5 separate regions of the Homo sapiens genome follow, and all the other regions are linked to region 4. Evidence: promoter capture Hi-C in 16 types of primary human blood cells and fetal thymus (Javierre and others, 2016). All regions are on one chromosome and are shown on one strand. The core of a region is centred on a gene start or on the middle of the fragment in contact, and the rest is flanking DNA. Distances in the headings are between cores, read along the strand shown. Region 1 holds the start of PIAS2 (protein inhibitor of activated STAT 2). Region 2 overlaps ARK2N (arkadia (RNF111) N-terminal like PKA signaling regulator 2N). Region 3 has its middle 50 kb from the start of ARK2C. Region 4 holds the start of LOXHD1 (lipoxygenase homology PLAT domains 1). Region 5 holds the start of ELOA2 (elongin A2).

Region 1 (2,700 bases), core at 64-2,563, 260 kb after region 4:
TTCTTTTGCTCACGTCCACTAAGCAGGTAACCAGCCAACATCCTTCCCCCATCCCATCTCTTGCGGAAAACAATAAATATACAAAACTGAACCTTTTACCGGATTCCTCTTCCTTATTTGAAAAAGAAATCCTAATATCATAAGTGTTACACAAACGAGTTGCAGTAAATGTAATTTCAAGTTTACACTCATCTCTACCTTGATACATTTAAAAAAAAAAAAAATCAGGGTTTCTGTCCGTAAACATCTCATTTATGTCGCCAGTAATTCAGCGATACACACAAATCCATCTCATTCGTCACACTTAGTTAGGACTTTAAAGGTTATCAGTCTGGGGGGAAAAAGTCTCTTCTGTTCTACCCCCATCACAGCCCTATTCCAGACCTCTGCTATACAAGGGTATCAACAATAAAGTTATGATCTTGTTTTAAGACTGAGAAGAAAAAAATATTTTTCCTCAAGAGTAAAAGGGGTGCACAAACCTCACAACATAGACTTTGCAGATTTCTTACTAAAACACTAAGAAAATATCGAGGTTTAAGGCCGATTATTGAAGGCAGGGATCCCCAAACATTAGGTTCCTCGAAGATGTTAGGAGGCAAGGGTGGGAGAAGGGGCCTTTTCTCGTGACAGACCTGACTAAACGGTAGCATCAGCCATAAGAAGAGGAGAGATTCCTAAACGCAACTTCAGCTTTCAGAAAACAGTCCTCCACCAAGTGAGTAGCATGCAGACTTGTGAATAGCCACAGACACGTACACCCCGGTGAAGGTGCAAGATCAAACGTTGCTTCCCACATCGGCCCTCACTGCGAACCGGGATGTCGGGTCCCCATGTGCCCCTCCTGGAGGGCGCCCCGACCCCCCGCGCCAGGTGTGCGGACCACTGGCAGCACTCAGGAGCCGGCTCGCCGCGGCCCAGGCCCGCCGCCCCCGCGCCGCCCGCGTGCCCTCCGCCGGCCCGCTCCCCTCCCCCGCGCCCTCGGCGCCCGTTCGTCCGCGGGCCGGGGCTCAGGGCTCCGCCAACCGGCCCCAGAGGCACGAGCAGGCGGCGGCCGGCGACGTTGCGGTTTCCCCACCTCCTCTCCCATCCCCTCCCCCGCGGCCTCCGCTCTCCACTCCCGCTTACCCTCAACTCTTCGAAATCCGCCATTTTATACCACCCGCGGGCGCCGCCGCCGCTGCCGCCGCACCCACTCCCGCTGCCGCCAACGACGCTGCCGCCACCACGGCCGCCGCCGCCTCCAGCACCATCCTGCACTGGGCGCCGCTTAAGACGCCGCGGCCGCCGCCGCTACAGCCGGGCCCGTCACGTGAACGGCGCGGGAGCTCCGCCTCCGACGCGCCGAAGCCCCGCCCCTAGCGGTGCCCCCTGCCCACCCGCGCGACCGCCTTCCGCCCGCGCCTTCAGTCCGCGCGGCGACAGCGCCCGCCCGCGCCTGCCCCGGCGTGCTGCCCCGCGGCTTGGCCCCGCTCGGCCCCAGGTCGTGCCTTCCCTCCCCGGCGGAGGCCCCTGCGGACTGCCTAGAGCTGGGTCGCAACTGAGGCGTTATCCGCGGGCCTGGCCTCGGGAAGTGGCGGGGAGGAAGAAGAGGCGGCCGGGACGCGTGACAGGAGCATTCGGGAAGATTCTTACGGTGCCCTTCACGCGGTGCCTATGGACGGAGAAAGCCGCCGCAAATAAAACCATCCCCCAGAGTAGTTGTGGCGGAATAATCTAAATATGGGTGTTGGGTAAGCTATTGTTCCCATCTAATGGTGAGGTTGTGTGACACCTCTTTGAATTGCTAATGTCCTGCAAGTACCAACCTTGCCGAGTTTTTCTGACCTTGAAGGGCACCTGAAGGTCACGGACTGCAGAGTTGGGAGAGTTAGGCGGTGGGGTTGGGGGCGGGGAGAAGTGAAATAAGAGCGCTCAGAAGGGCCATGCTAAAAAGTCGGGGAAATCTGATAGCTAGGAAGGAGTCAAACGCCAAGGCAGAGTAAGTAGATAGAAGGAAGCTTGATGGCCCCCCCGTAATGTGCTGATATAGGATGAAGGAAGATGCTGAGTCAAGATGGCCAGAAAAATCGCTGGACGGTGTCCAGGGTTCAATTTCCTTGAAGAATTGGGTGGAACCCACACACGAGAGGTCTTTAAAACAATGTAACTTTTAAGGCCCTGTTTAATCAGCCTCCTACCTACCGCCTCTTCCCACTACCCCTCGTTTCATCCGCACTGCACTTCCAGGTCTTCCTTCCACTCCCCTGCCCCCGCACCCCGCAAGTTTTGTTTTTTTGAGACGGAGTTTTGCTCTTGTTGCCCAGGCTGGAGTGCAATGGCACGATCTCGGCTCACCGCAATGTCTGCCTCCCGGGTTCAAGCGATTCTCCTACCTCCGCCTCCCGAGTAGCTGCGATTGTATTTTTGGTAGAAACGAGGTTTCTCCAAGTTGGTCAGGCTGGTCTCCAACTCCGGACCTCAGGTGATCCGCCCGCCTCGGCCTCCCAAAGTACTGAGATTACAGGCGTGAGCCACTGCACCCGGCCTCCCCTCAAGTTTTAAGGCTTCTAAATGTTGATCCTTGAACCAAGAATAATTTCCCACTCTCTTCTTTGTTCCTAACTCCTGTTCATCCTTCAGGTTTCACTTTAAGTGTCACTTCCTCAGGAAGACCATCCCTCACCCACATCCCACATTTTAATTCAAATTCCCCTGTTA
Region 2 (2,700 bases), core at 1-2,500, 390 kb before region 4:
TATCATTAAGAGTATGAGAATTACCATTTTCAGTTTTCATTCAGCAAACAAATTTACCAAGTGCCTGCTCTGCATAAGGCACTGTGAGGGGTGGGTGCTCTGGGGGCTGCTGAGATGAATGACACACACCGCACATACACATGCATCAGTGTCTGCCTGCCTCCACCTGCCCAGCCTGTTCTTCTTCTTCTTCTTCATCTTCTTCTTTTTTTTTTTTTTTTGTAAAGACAAGTTTATTCCTTTACGCTTCTTGTTGCATTAGTTCTCCTGTATGTTCCTTCTTCCACAGGAATGTATTTGTGCATATGTTCTTTGATCTTCTCTGATAGCATCTCATTTGATCTGGCCTCTGTCCTTCATCAGCTTTTATTTTTTTTATTTTTATTTTCTGCTTTTGTTAGATAAGGCTTTTAAGATCATGAACCTCCAGCTTTAGCAACTCATATATCAGTCTCTCACATGGCCACAATTCTAGACAAAAACCAAAGACCCAGAGGCCAGAGCAAAGTAGGACCTTCTGAAGATTCACTACTGGTGTATCCTTGGACCTTCACATTTTACTTTAGGATTAATTTATTGAATTTTACTGTTACACATAGTTTTTGACTTGAATTAAAATACTAGACAAAGCAGAAATGTACAATTTCTGGTCTGTGTTTTCCAGGAAATTCATAGAGAAGAGAATAGAGTGGATGATGTGACTTGAAGTTTTTGCAGCTTATTTTTTCCCCCACTGTCAGGGCAGAGGCCCATTTTAATGAATGTTTTTGCATGACCTGTTCTTATGTTAACCACATATTTTTTTTCCCAATTCCACACAGCAGGTGATTTCCCGTGTGACATATTTTCTTCATAGTCCCTAATATAGTCATCCTCTACAGAGTTGGCGTGCTGTGTGCACTGTGGATTAGGAACAGAGTGGAGCTGTAACCAGTCTCTTCTCTGGCCCTTTGCCTTTATGTCAGCTTGCACTTTTGCCTCACTTATTCCTAGTCCAGCTCCCAACTGCCTGACTTAATGGACCAGAACGGAGATTTGGATATTAAGATGCAGAGGGGGAGGGGAAGGGATGGTAGAGATAGACAGCTCTCCCCTACTAGGTTGGGTCATTTCCCCTAATAACTATAGAGAGACTGTGTTTCAACTCTCTTTTCATTGCTGTTTCCAGAAGAGTGGAGAGTGTGGTTTCAGGCAAGGTATTAATGATACAATTCCGTGGTATACAGCTCCTGTGACATTTGAAGTTTCTTTTAAAGGGGTTTTTCTTAATCAAAGTTTTACATTTGGTAGCATAAGTAGTTCTTTATGCTTCACAGGACATTGTCTTCAGAGTAATCTCTCTGCTAAAATGGTACATGTGGGTCACAGATTGGTTTATGCCACTGACTTGGTTAAGTTTCCACCCCCTCCAATTTGTGAAAAACAGAGCAGTGACCTAGCTGTTGCATCATCATGACTGCCATGTAACCTGTAATTGCTGCTCTCCAGTAATTGTCTTTTCATTTTGATGGTAGGGGCCAGACTGAATGAATAATGCATTCTTTTTTATTCAATTTATTTCATTCAGTTTATTCTTGGCAATCAAACATCCCATAAACTTTGCTTTTATTATCAATTATGAATATGAATTGTCTGGTTTACTAATGTAGTCATTTGTTCATCTTTACTTTTAGCAGATTAGCACCATAACTAACTTAAAACTAAGTTTGTTACCTGCTTTTTATACTGTCACAAAGGTTTTTGAAAAAGCTGGGGACACTATTTTGTCTTTTAGTTTTAAACTTTTTTAAGGCAAAGCAAGCTCCCCAATCCCTGTTCTCCAATATGTGTATGATGTGACTTCCATGTAGATATAAAAATGATTGTGCCCTAACCAAACTTCCTCAGATTGTGCACTGTTTGTTTAAAATAATCACGTATTTTAGTCTGATGCTGTTGTATTTTTTCATTTTATTTAAAACACTACTTACTTCTTATTCTCTTAACAAATTTTAAAAGGTAGTGATCTTAAAAAAAAATCACTGGATAACTAGGAAATATTTTTGTTGTTGTTTTGTTTCTTAAAGAGTACAGAGGCCATTGAAGCCTTTTGCTCCTCTTACCGTGAAAATGAAATGTTAGCCATTGTATGGCTAGGAACCAATGCACTTGGCAGTTAATGGATCTGCTGTTGCTGGAGTGTGAGCGTGGACTTGATGCAGTGATGACAAATCATTGCTTAGAATTAATGTTTTCAAATGTGCAACTCTAGTTTTTAAAACAAAATTTGGTTCTTTACATTCATTATTTCGTTTTTGTTTCCCTTTAGTATTTAATGGTCTTTGGAGAAAAAATAATAAAACAGAGTGTTATATATATATTTTTTGGTGCAAGATAAGATTTTCTGTTTTTTGAAATAAGTCTGTAGCATAAAGGTTAAACTATTTTAAGACAAAATAAAATAGAGTGTATTTAAACAATGATATCTTCTGAGGTTTTTTTTTTTTTTTCTTTGTCCCTATCTGCTTCAGTTAATTAGGTGGTACCTGGAGCAATTTCCAAGTTACCTTTTAAATGTGAAAGTGGATTCTATTTTGTTAACAAGTCTTATCTTTATAAGATGTCTGAGTTTTCAAAGCAAGAGCTGTATCCTTGCAAGGTTACTTGCAAAACTACTCCCAAGAAGTTTTGCAAGTAACCTTGGATAATTGTTGGATGTTG
Region 3 (2,700 bases), core at 137-2,636, 370 kb before region 4:
GGTAATTCTGATGCCTGCTCCAATTTCAGAATGACTGCACTGCCTTTTGTTACCAGATTTGTTGCAAGTTACAGTCATCTACGGAGCTTTTGTCTAGGGTGCGCCCTGTACTGATTTAATCGCAATGTCTAGGAGTGGGAGTCAGGCAGCAGGATTTTTACAAAGATTCCCAGGTAATTCCAGTGTGCATTAAAGTAGGGGAACCACTACCCTAACCCAAACCTGGACAGTGGGGCACCAGAGAAAGCTTCGTGGAGGGGTGTCAGATAAGCAGAAACCTTAAATGCAGTTGGGACTTGATAGTGAACATACGTTGGAGGGGAATGTGGAGGGCTAGGAGGCCACTGGTGTCCATAGACATTTCTGAAGAGACTATAATCTAGTGTTAAGAAGCTGGACTACAAGAGTTCAATGTTCCAATGAGCTATGATCATGTCCCTGTACTCTGGGCTGGGTGACAGAGCAAGACGCTGTCTCTAAAAATAAAGAAGCTGGGCTATGGGAATAAGTCACCTGGGTGCGAATCCTGCTCCGCCCTTACCAGCTGTGTGACCACAGACAAGTCACTTAACCTCTCTGTTCCTCTTCCACACGGGGTTTCCGTGAGGATTAAGCACATATAGAAGGCACTGGTGGTATGGGCGTTGTAATCATAAATTGAGCTAAAGGCCCAGCACTAAACCAGAATGTTTTGGGGAGCTTAAGAGTCGCAAGAGATGGCACCAGCCAGATGAGAGGACAAAGCCACAAAAGGCTCTGGACCTAAAGGCACTGGGAAGCCATGGAAAGTGGCATGCATGGGGGAGCCACATGGAGATATGTGTGGATGTGCCAGAGAGCAACAAGGTGGAGGAGAGCAATCAGGGAGGGGCTCGTCCCCAAGAGACGGGGGAGATGTGACAGTGCCTGCCTGCCAGAGAGATGACTGAAGAGCTGAGATGGTGAAATAGGCAGGACTTGGAGACAGATTAGATTAGGTAGGAGTGGGAGAGGAGATGAAGAAATGTCCCTATTTCTGGGCTGGACGAATGAGGTGGTTGTGTCCTGATTTGGGGCACCCTTGCACACCCAGTTCCAGCACCAGGCTCTCTCTGTTCTGTAGACCGAGGCTGGGCCATAGGCATAGTGAGAGGAGCCTGCTGACTCACACTTCCCCCCACCCGACTTCCCAGGAACAATTTGAGTGTTTTGGAGTCATTCGTCATCCCTCGGTTGAAGACAGTGAAGGCCCATCCAGGCAGACTTACTTCTTGTTACTTGAATGTGTCGTGCATGTTCCCACCTCCAGGACTTTGCCCACACCTCCGCCTTTCCTCCCTGTCTACCAGAACCCAGCTGACCATCATCCCCTCCTCCACAACACAACCCTCCTTTAAGGCTCACCGCCTTGAGCCCTCCTGACCTCAGCGATTGTCCTGGAAGTGGGCAGCAGTCATGGATTGCTAGTCAATAGGATGTCAGTCCCTGCACCTGTGGCAACTGAAATATTAAGCTCCTGGAAGCTGAAAAGTGCCTCCCAGGTCTCTGCCCCTCCCAAGATGCCTGGCCTAGTGTTTTGTCAGACAGATGTAGGATGAGGGCCCTGATTGGACTGGGAGGAAAACACAATTCAATTACCAGCCAGGAAGGACTTGTTGAGAATTAGATTATCAGCCCCTGGGGGCTCGGTGGGAGAGAACAAAGGGTGGAAACTTCTCACAGGATTGCCCTCCCTGGGTCTCAGGGCATTGGGTATATCAGTTTCTGTAATGTGGTGCCTCTCCCATCCAGCAAGAGAGGTGGAGACAGCTGGGCTGAGCCCTCTTTGGCCTCTGCCAAATCCCCTCCAGTCAGCTTCTCCCGGTGCCTGGAGGTAGAGGTGAAAGATGACACCAGCACCCACAAGAGGCAGGACCACGGCCAGTGCTCTAGAAAAACCACTTGGCCCCTAAGGACTCCCTTACTGTGTGCCTATGGCCATGTTAGGTGCTGCACAGGACGTGCCAGAAATATTCAGATGGAAGCCTCAGAAATCATAGAAAGCCCCAGAAACAATGCCAGGGTAGAGGAAGTAAGAACTTGGACTTTGGACCCAGATAAACCCAGGTTTGGACCCTGAAATTGTTCACTGTCTAAGGCTCAGTGCAGGAGCCTGAACCTCTCTGAATCAGTTTCTTCATCTGCTAAATGGTCATAATAGCAGCTGTTATTCAAGTGATTAAAACTTTACACACACACATATATATTCAAAAGTATGATACAGTGCTAAGTGATACACGTGATGAAGCATTGTGAAGTCCTTGAGCGTGGTGTCTGGCATAGAGCAAGCTCCCAGTATGTGGCAGCTATTACTACTGCTGTTGTTTCATTCTGGTTCTGAATAATTACCACAATTGCAGGAAGGGAGAGTCCACCGAGTGGTCCTGAATGGCCGGAGAAGGAGACAGGACTTTTAGGATGAGTTCAGAAAGAGAGGAAGGACCAACCAGCCAGAGGGAGCAAAATGTCCCGATTTCCAAAAAGTGAAGAACATGATTCCTGGGATGTAAGCTTAACGACACTCAGTAGCATTCTAGAATTATTAAACAGGTGGTTTGGGAGCACTTTGCGAAGAACTGTGCCCATCCTGGAATTAACTCATTAAAATCATGTCAAATCAAACTCCCAGGGACTTGCGTTATCAAATAATTTTGTTTTCTTTTTCTTTCTTTTCTTCCTTTT
Region 4 (2,700 bases), core at 41-2,540:
GAACTGGGCTTTCAGAGTGAGGACAGGAAGAGGGAGAAAGGGGAAGACAAACAAGGCCATGGGCAGGCACAGAGCACACATTCAATAAATACTTGCTGAATGAATGAATGAGTGAATGCATGGATGACTATGGCGCTTACGGGGACTGGTGAGCCACTTTGGAGTCAGCATTGAGAATTTAAATGGCTTCAGAGACTAGGCAGGCAGCACTGATGAGTAAACCAGACCTAGTATGAGATGACAGGGAGTGGTGGAGACTGTGATAAGCTGGACGTCCACAGCCTATTGGCATTCACAGAAAAAAGGATTTCAAAACGCTGGAAAGGAAAAAAACAACTTAAACTCTGCTGGCCAAAACCAGCTCTAGGGTCACAGTTCACTTCTTTGGTTTACCTGGCAAGGAGTTAGAGCAATTTCAAGCAGGTCTCATGTGGCCCAGGGAAAGATGAGACTAGAAGGACAAGGCCCTGGGGTCCAGAGCACCGGCCGCCTTCGACATATGGGATGGACATCTCCTTGCAAAGCCCCAGGCTCCCTGTCTCCATCAACCACAGTGGGCATAGGATGAGCTGTCAGGCTTCCTCCCCAAGACATCCTTTCATGACCCCAGCAGTTCAGGGCGCTCTGCCTGATGCAGACCACCTACTCGGGGACCAGACTGGAACGTGGCTTTGGGGATGTTCAGGAGCTGGAGAACATGGGGCCATGGGGGCACTGTGGCTCTAGTCTATTCTGTTCCACTGAGAATCGGGGGCTAAAGGCAAGTTGCTCCACCTGTCTGTACAACAGGGACCCCACCATCCCTGCATAATGCCTGCCTTCTTACTCCGAGGGGATATGGAACAGACACATGGGATAATCAGTGAGGAAGGGCTTGCTCCGAAATCTTAGAATGACTCCCCATAGACAGGAACAGACCCCTGCCCACCGCAGCCAGCTGCACCACCCGCCCCCCGCAGGCTGGGACCCCGCACCTCTGGCCTTGTAGTACTCGTGTTCCAGCTCCCCCTCGTCGTCCTCCGAGGCGTAGTTCAGCAGCTCCGCTTCGTACAGGGCCAGGAAGTCGATGTCCTTCTTCCTCCGCCTTTTCTTCTGGGGCATCATTCTGTCGGCTGCCTTCTCCCAGCGCTCGCAGGCTCACTGTGCCGCCTCCTCACACCTGCGGGAACCTGAGACCTCCTCCCTGAGCTCTGGCGCCCACGGCCCTCCTATAGCTCAGGCCTGGGTGGGCCAGAGTGCCCCGTTTTCTTGGCTTCCCCGTGCCCAAGGTGCTGTTCCCTCTGCCTTCTCTGGCTCCTGAGCTGAACCTCAGTGCCTTATCTCTGAACCTCCTGTCCCTGTCCCCTCCCACCACCCTCTGGTGAGCCACCTCCTCCTCCTCTGTACCTGCCCCGGGGCTTCTCTTTGGGCCTCATCACTTATTCATGGCGCTGAGGGCAGGCTGACTTCCTTCCTCTCTCCCCTCCCCACCAGCCCTCTCTCCTCCCTATGGAGAATCAGGTGACACGGAGCCCTTGAAGTCCATTTCCCACCTGGCCTCACAGCCAGGGGGTCACCTGGGATCCCTCCAGGCCACCCCAGGGACAGGTGAGGGCTCCTCACCCAGGAGATCTCCCAAGCCTTACAGCCCACACGGGACCCTCCTGAGGAAGGCGGGGCCCCGGAATCAGCCAGGCTCCCAGGACTCAAAGGCCCCCGTTTCTCTCCATTATTCATGACCTCTGATCGTCTTACGGAGCAGGCGGGGTTCTCGCTGGATCCTTCTCGTTCTCTCTCTCTGCTTCCATCTCATCAAGACTGCGGGCTTCCGGAAGTGGCCTCTGGGCACGAGGAAAGCTAGGGCACCAGAAAACTCTCCCCGCTCCCCCTGCCAGGTGAGCTTTATATGCACTAAAGTTTAAACATCATCGTAGCCGATGCCCTCCCAGGTGAACTCACTAACTAGATCAGCTCACCACCTGGACTCACGGGAGGGCATCAGCAAGCTCCTACCCCAGGGCGCACAGCCCGGGCTGCACACCAGAAGCCCCCAGAGAGGTGTTGAACGCTAATGCGTGGGTCCCATCCCCAAGGATTCTGATTTGCTTGGTTTGGGACGCAGCTTGGGCCCCAGTTTTTAAAGCTCCTGGTGACTTTCATGTGCAGCCATGTTGAGGGTCCCTGAATCGCTTCTCAGGTAACTTAGGTGTGCTAACAGGAGTCCTCTAGAAGCAACACGTGTGATTTTGTCCTCTAAGCCAAAATAGTGACTCTAAAGGGGAATTTCAGGTGGAGAGGAAGAGAGGATTTGGAGCGGACGCCTGAGGAGCAGTCGGCACTCACAGGCCTCCCCGGCAGCCTGGGGCAGCTTTGGTCCTGCCCTGCTCTTTGGAGCCATCCAAATCTTCCACTAGGGGGAGGCATCTCTAACCCCGAACGTTCCTACCCAGGAAAGATCAACCTCCCCTCTTCCCCTATTCAGCTGAGGGGCCGCCCTTGAAGCAGCTCAAAGTCCTCTGAGGACCAGGAGTGAAGTTTAATGGTGGGTGGCGCGCGCCCCCTTCTGGCAATATGTGGTTTACACACCTGGATTCTTCAGGAAGAGACCTTCCTTAAGGATCTCTAGGAATCTACTAAGAAAACTCATTTTACACGAGTACCCATTCAGGGAAAAGATAATAAAACGTTTCTTAGAATTTTTTTTGAGACGGAGTCTCCCTC
Region 5 (2,700 bases), core at 117-2,616, 380 kb after region 4:
TTCTCCTCGGGCGACAGGCCGTGTGTCCCATTTCCTGGGTCCCGGCCGTCTAGACTGGGCCTCTTCTTGTTCGAGTGACTGTGCTGAGGCCTCTTCTGGTGACTGTCTGGAGCCTCCTCCAAGGCAGGGACACGCTGGCCGCTGCCAGCTTGCCCCCCTTCCTTGTCTGTCTTGAAGTCCGAAGGCTGCCTGTCCCTGGCACTTGCCCAGGAGGGCATCCTTGGGGTTTCCTCTCTTAAGCAGGCCCCGCATGATTTCTCCCTGATCAAAGTAGGGGAGTGCCAATCTCCCTGGGCACACAAGGGGCGTTTTTCCTGGCGAGACGATTTGTGCCCCTTGCTGTGGCTCACAACGGCTTTCCCCTGGGGTTGGCCCTGGCAGCCTGGACACAGCAGAGGCCCGCCCTGAGCCGCGTGAGTGTGGCCTCTTCCGGGTTGCTTCCCGGGCGCAGCGGGCTCAGGGCCCTCGGGCATCCGGAGGGGAGCTGTGCGCGTTGGAGAGGCCCGATAGCGGCCGGAATCAGCTGGGGCTATTCTGGGGCACTTTCTCTCAGCTCTGGGCTCGCGACTGTGAGACCTCGGGTGAGGTCTCTGTTGCCCCGGAGGTGTTCTGCGTGCTGTCCGTCTGTGCTCAGGGCTGTGAGATGGGCTCCTGGGGGCCGTCGCGTTTTCTGGGAAGCCCCAGGCCTTTTCCTGGTCCTGAAGAGCCTCCCCGAAGCGCTGTCGGGAAGCGCTCTCCTCAGGGTCCTGTGGGCCAGGCCGGGTGTTTCGGTCCACGAGCACCAGCTTCTTCCACCGGGCCGCTAAGTCTCTGGCAAAGTCGCCCACGTGCTGGTGCTTCCGCAGGCGCTTCACCGTCTTTCTGATTCCAGTCTCCGCCAGGATGTCTGCCGTCATGGGCAAGGCGGAGAGTTTCTGCAAATATTTCTCTAGCTTTTTCGGCTCCGTCTTAGTGGCCAGACGCACCTGCAGCTTCTCCACTGCGTGCAGCGTAGTGGACCCTGCCGCCATCTCACCAGAGCTGTGCAGGCGTCGCTGTCCCGGCGGTCGCAGCTCTGTCTTTGGGGCTGCGGGACAGGAAGTCTGGGGTGGCCGGTCCTCGCTGCCCGGTCGCCAGGCAGCGACCTCGGGATGTGGAGTCACAGCCTGGAGCGAGCTGGGTCCTCGGAGCAGCAGGCCACTTGGTCTGGAACGGCCGTCCTTGCAGACAGCTGAGCAGGCCCGCTTTTGTTCCTCGGGATGTGGAGCCACAGCCTGGAGTGACCTCTGCAGTTTGCTGTGCAACAAAGAATGAAGCTCTGGTGCCAGAGCTGGGCCTTATGTAGCCCATCCCAGGCTGACACTCACGGCTCTAGCCCTGACCCTCTTAGCTCTTGGGCTGCCCCGCCCCCATACGTACTCATGCCGTCAGCACAATGCAGACAATCGGGACGGTCCACGCCAGGTGGACTGCTGTGCCCCAGAGGTTGATTAGGTTAATTTCAGCCTCGACACACCCCACTGAGTTTTACCGTTGACCTTCCATGTTCGCAGGTTCCACATCTGTGAATTCCAAAAAACACAGACTGAATCTTCTTGGGAGTAAAACAGAAAATAACACAGCAAGACAAAATCATAGAAAGAAGAACCAATACAGGATAACAACTCTTTGCCTAGGACTGATGTTGTGTGAGGGGACTTCCCAAATTTGTCAAAACAGGGATTAAAAGACAAAAATAAAACCGGTAGATTTTATTTCTTAACATCTGCTCCATCAATTTCGAGACAGTAGTTCGAGCACTGTCTTGACCCCGCCTTGTCCCTCAAGCCCTGATGTTTCTGGGAATTTAACTATTTCCAAGAAATCTTTTTTCCATTATTAACTGAAGAAAACTGGGTGCCGTTTGCAGAATTTTTAATACGAGGAAATAAATAGAAGTCAGCAGGTTCCACATCATGACTGCAAGGTGGACGCCTCATGATCTCCTTTTGAAACTCTTGCCAAACTGCCCTTTGTTCAGTGAAATGCTACAGCAAGAACTTTTTCATGATTAGGTAGAACTCTCTGGTAATGGTTTTTCTGCTCATGCTTTGGCTAGTTTTCTCAAAAACTCTGTTAGTAAGCATATTTGATCTTGGTTTGGCCCTTCAAAAAGTCTTTTAGTCATATCTTTTGAGCATTCCCCAAAACTGTTGCCATGACCTCTTCTCTTGACTGGTCCTCTCTGTCTTTGACTGGAGTGCTGCCACCTTTTGGTAGCCTTTGTTTTGTGCTCTTTCTTCAGGACTATCCAGTGTAGCCATGTTTTATCCCCGCTTACAAATCTTGGAATAAATATTTCTGGATCTTCTTCCACCTGTTTTAAAACTTTAAAGAAATTTTTACTCTTGTCTCTAGCTATTATTGTTGAAACAGATTTGGTATCTGGATCGGACTTTAATTTTCAGTGACAATTATTAAAACAGGATCATTTGAAATATCTATGGTTTTTTCTCTTATTTCTGTTGTTACTTATTTACCCTCTCAAATTAGGGAACACTTGGTCCTATGTTTCTGAGCATAGTTGACCAATTCTGACATTGTATTAAATTCAATAAATGTCTTTTCTGGATCTGTAGACACTTCTTTTGATATTTCTAGCATTTTTTTGGGTTGTACAGCATTTGAAAGTTAGGAAGTTTCCTGGCAGAGCCAGGAGATAGTCAGGAAACAAACAAGAAA

What was found. Contacts are between HindIII fragments. The CHiCAGO score rates a contact against its expected background, and 5 or more counts as called.
Region 1: a contact is called between the fragment with the promoter of PIAS2 here and the fragment with the promoter of LOXHD1 in region 4, in 6 of 17 cell types (endothelial precursors, M0 macrophages, megakaryocytes and 3 more). The highest score is 11.5, in endothelial precursors.
Region 2: a fragment that was not itself captured here is called in contact with the fragment with the promoter of LOXHD1 in region 4 in 2 of 17 cell types (M1 macrophages and monocytes); the score reaches 5.7 in M1 macrophages.
Region 3: a contact is called between a fragment that was not itself captured here and the fragment with the promoter of LOXHD1 in region 4, in 14 of 17 cell types (M0 macrophages, total CD8 T cells, megakaryocytes and 11 more). The highest score is 17.2, in M0 macrophages.
Region 5: the fragment with the promoter of ELOA2 here is called in contact with the fragment with the promoter of LOXHD1 in region 4 in 4 of 17 cell types (M2 macrophages, megakaryocytes, endothelial precursors and 1 more); the score reaches 9.0 in M2 macrophages.

Annotation. Positions count from the first base shown.
Region 1 is chr18:46,916,194-46,918,893 of GRCh38, forward strand. It overlaps PIAS2 (protein inhibitor of activated STAT 2), which reads right to left and starts at 1,314. Exons shown (of 14, transcript NM_004671.5): 1 at 1,129-1,314. The coding sequence starts at 1,152. KATNAL2 (katanin catalytic subunit A1 like 2) reads left to right here and starts at 1,409. Exons shown (of 18, transcript NM_001387690.1): 1 at 1,409-1,733. RefSeq lists silencers at 684-763, 834-1,573 and an enhancer at 710-1,463. The HindIII fragment of the contact is 2,459 bases long and covers 1-1,998 here.
Region 2 is chr18:46,264,531-46,267,230 of GRCh38, forward strand. It overlaps ARK2N (arkadia (RNF111) N-terminal like PKA signaling regulator 2N), which reads left to right. Exons shown (of 5, transcript NM_145055.5): 5 at 1-2,462. Among named protein-coding and RNA genes, the nearest start is that of ARK2C, 68 kb to the right of the region's middle. The HindIII fragment of the contact is 6,556 bases long and covers 1-2,700 here.
Region 3 is chr18:46,282,294-46,284,993 of GRCh38, forward strand. No RefSeq gene overlaps it. Among named protein-coding and RNA genes, the nearest start is that of ARK2C, 50 kb to the right of the region's middle. The HindIII fragment of the contact is 2,282 bases long and covers 246-2,527 here.
Region 4 is chr18:46,655,930-46,658,629 of GRCh38, forward strand. LOXHD1 (lipoxygenase homology PLAT domains 1) reads right to left here and starts at 1,291. Exons shown (of 41, transcript NM_001384474.1): 1 at 975-1,291. The coding sequence starts at 1,104. RefSeq lists enhancers at 1,539-2,488, 2,299-2,348. The HindIII fragment of the contact is 3,833 bases long and covers 1-2,700 here.
Region 5 is chr18:47,034,255-47,036,954 of GRCh38, forward strand. It overlaps ELOA2 (elongin A2), which reads right to left and starts at 1,367. Exons shown (of 1, transcript NM_016427.3): 1 at 1-1,367. The coding sequence starts at 1,010. The region is part of intron 3 of KATNAL2 (katanin catalytic subunit A1 like 2); the gene reads left to right. The HindIII fragment of the contact is 9,917 bases long and covers 1-2,700 here.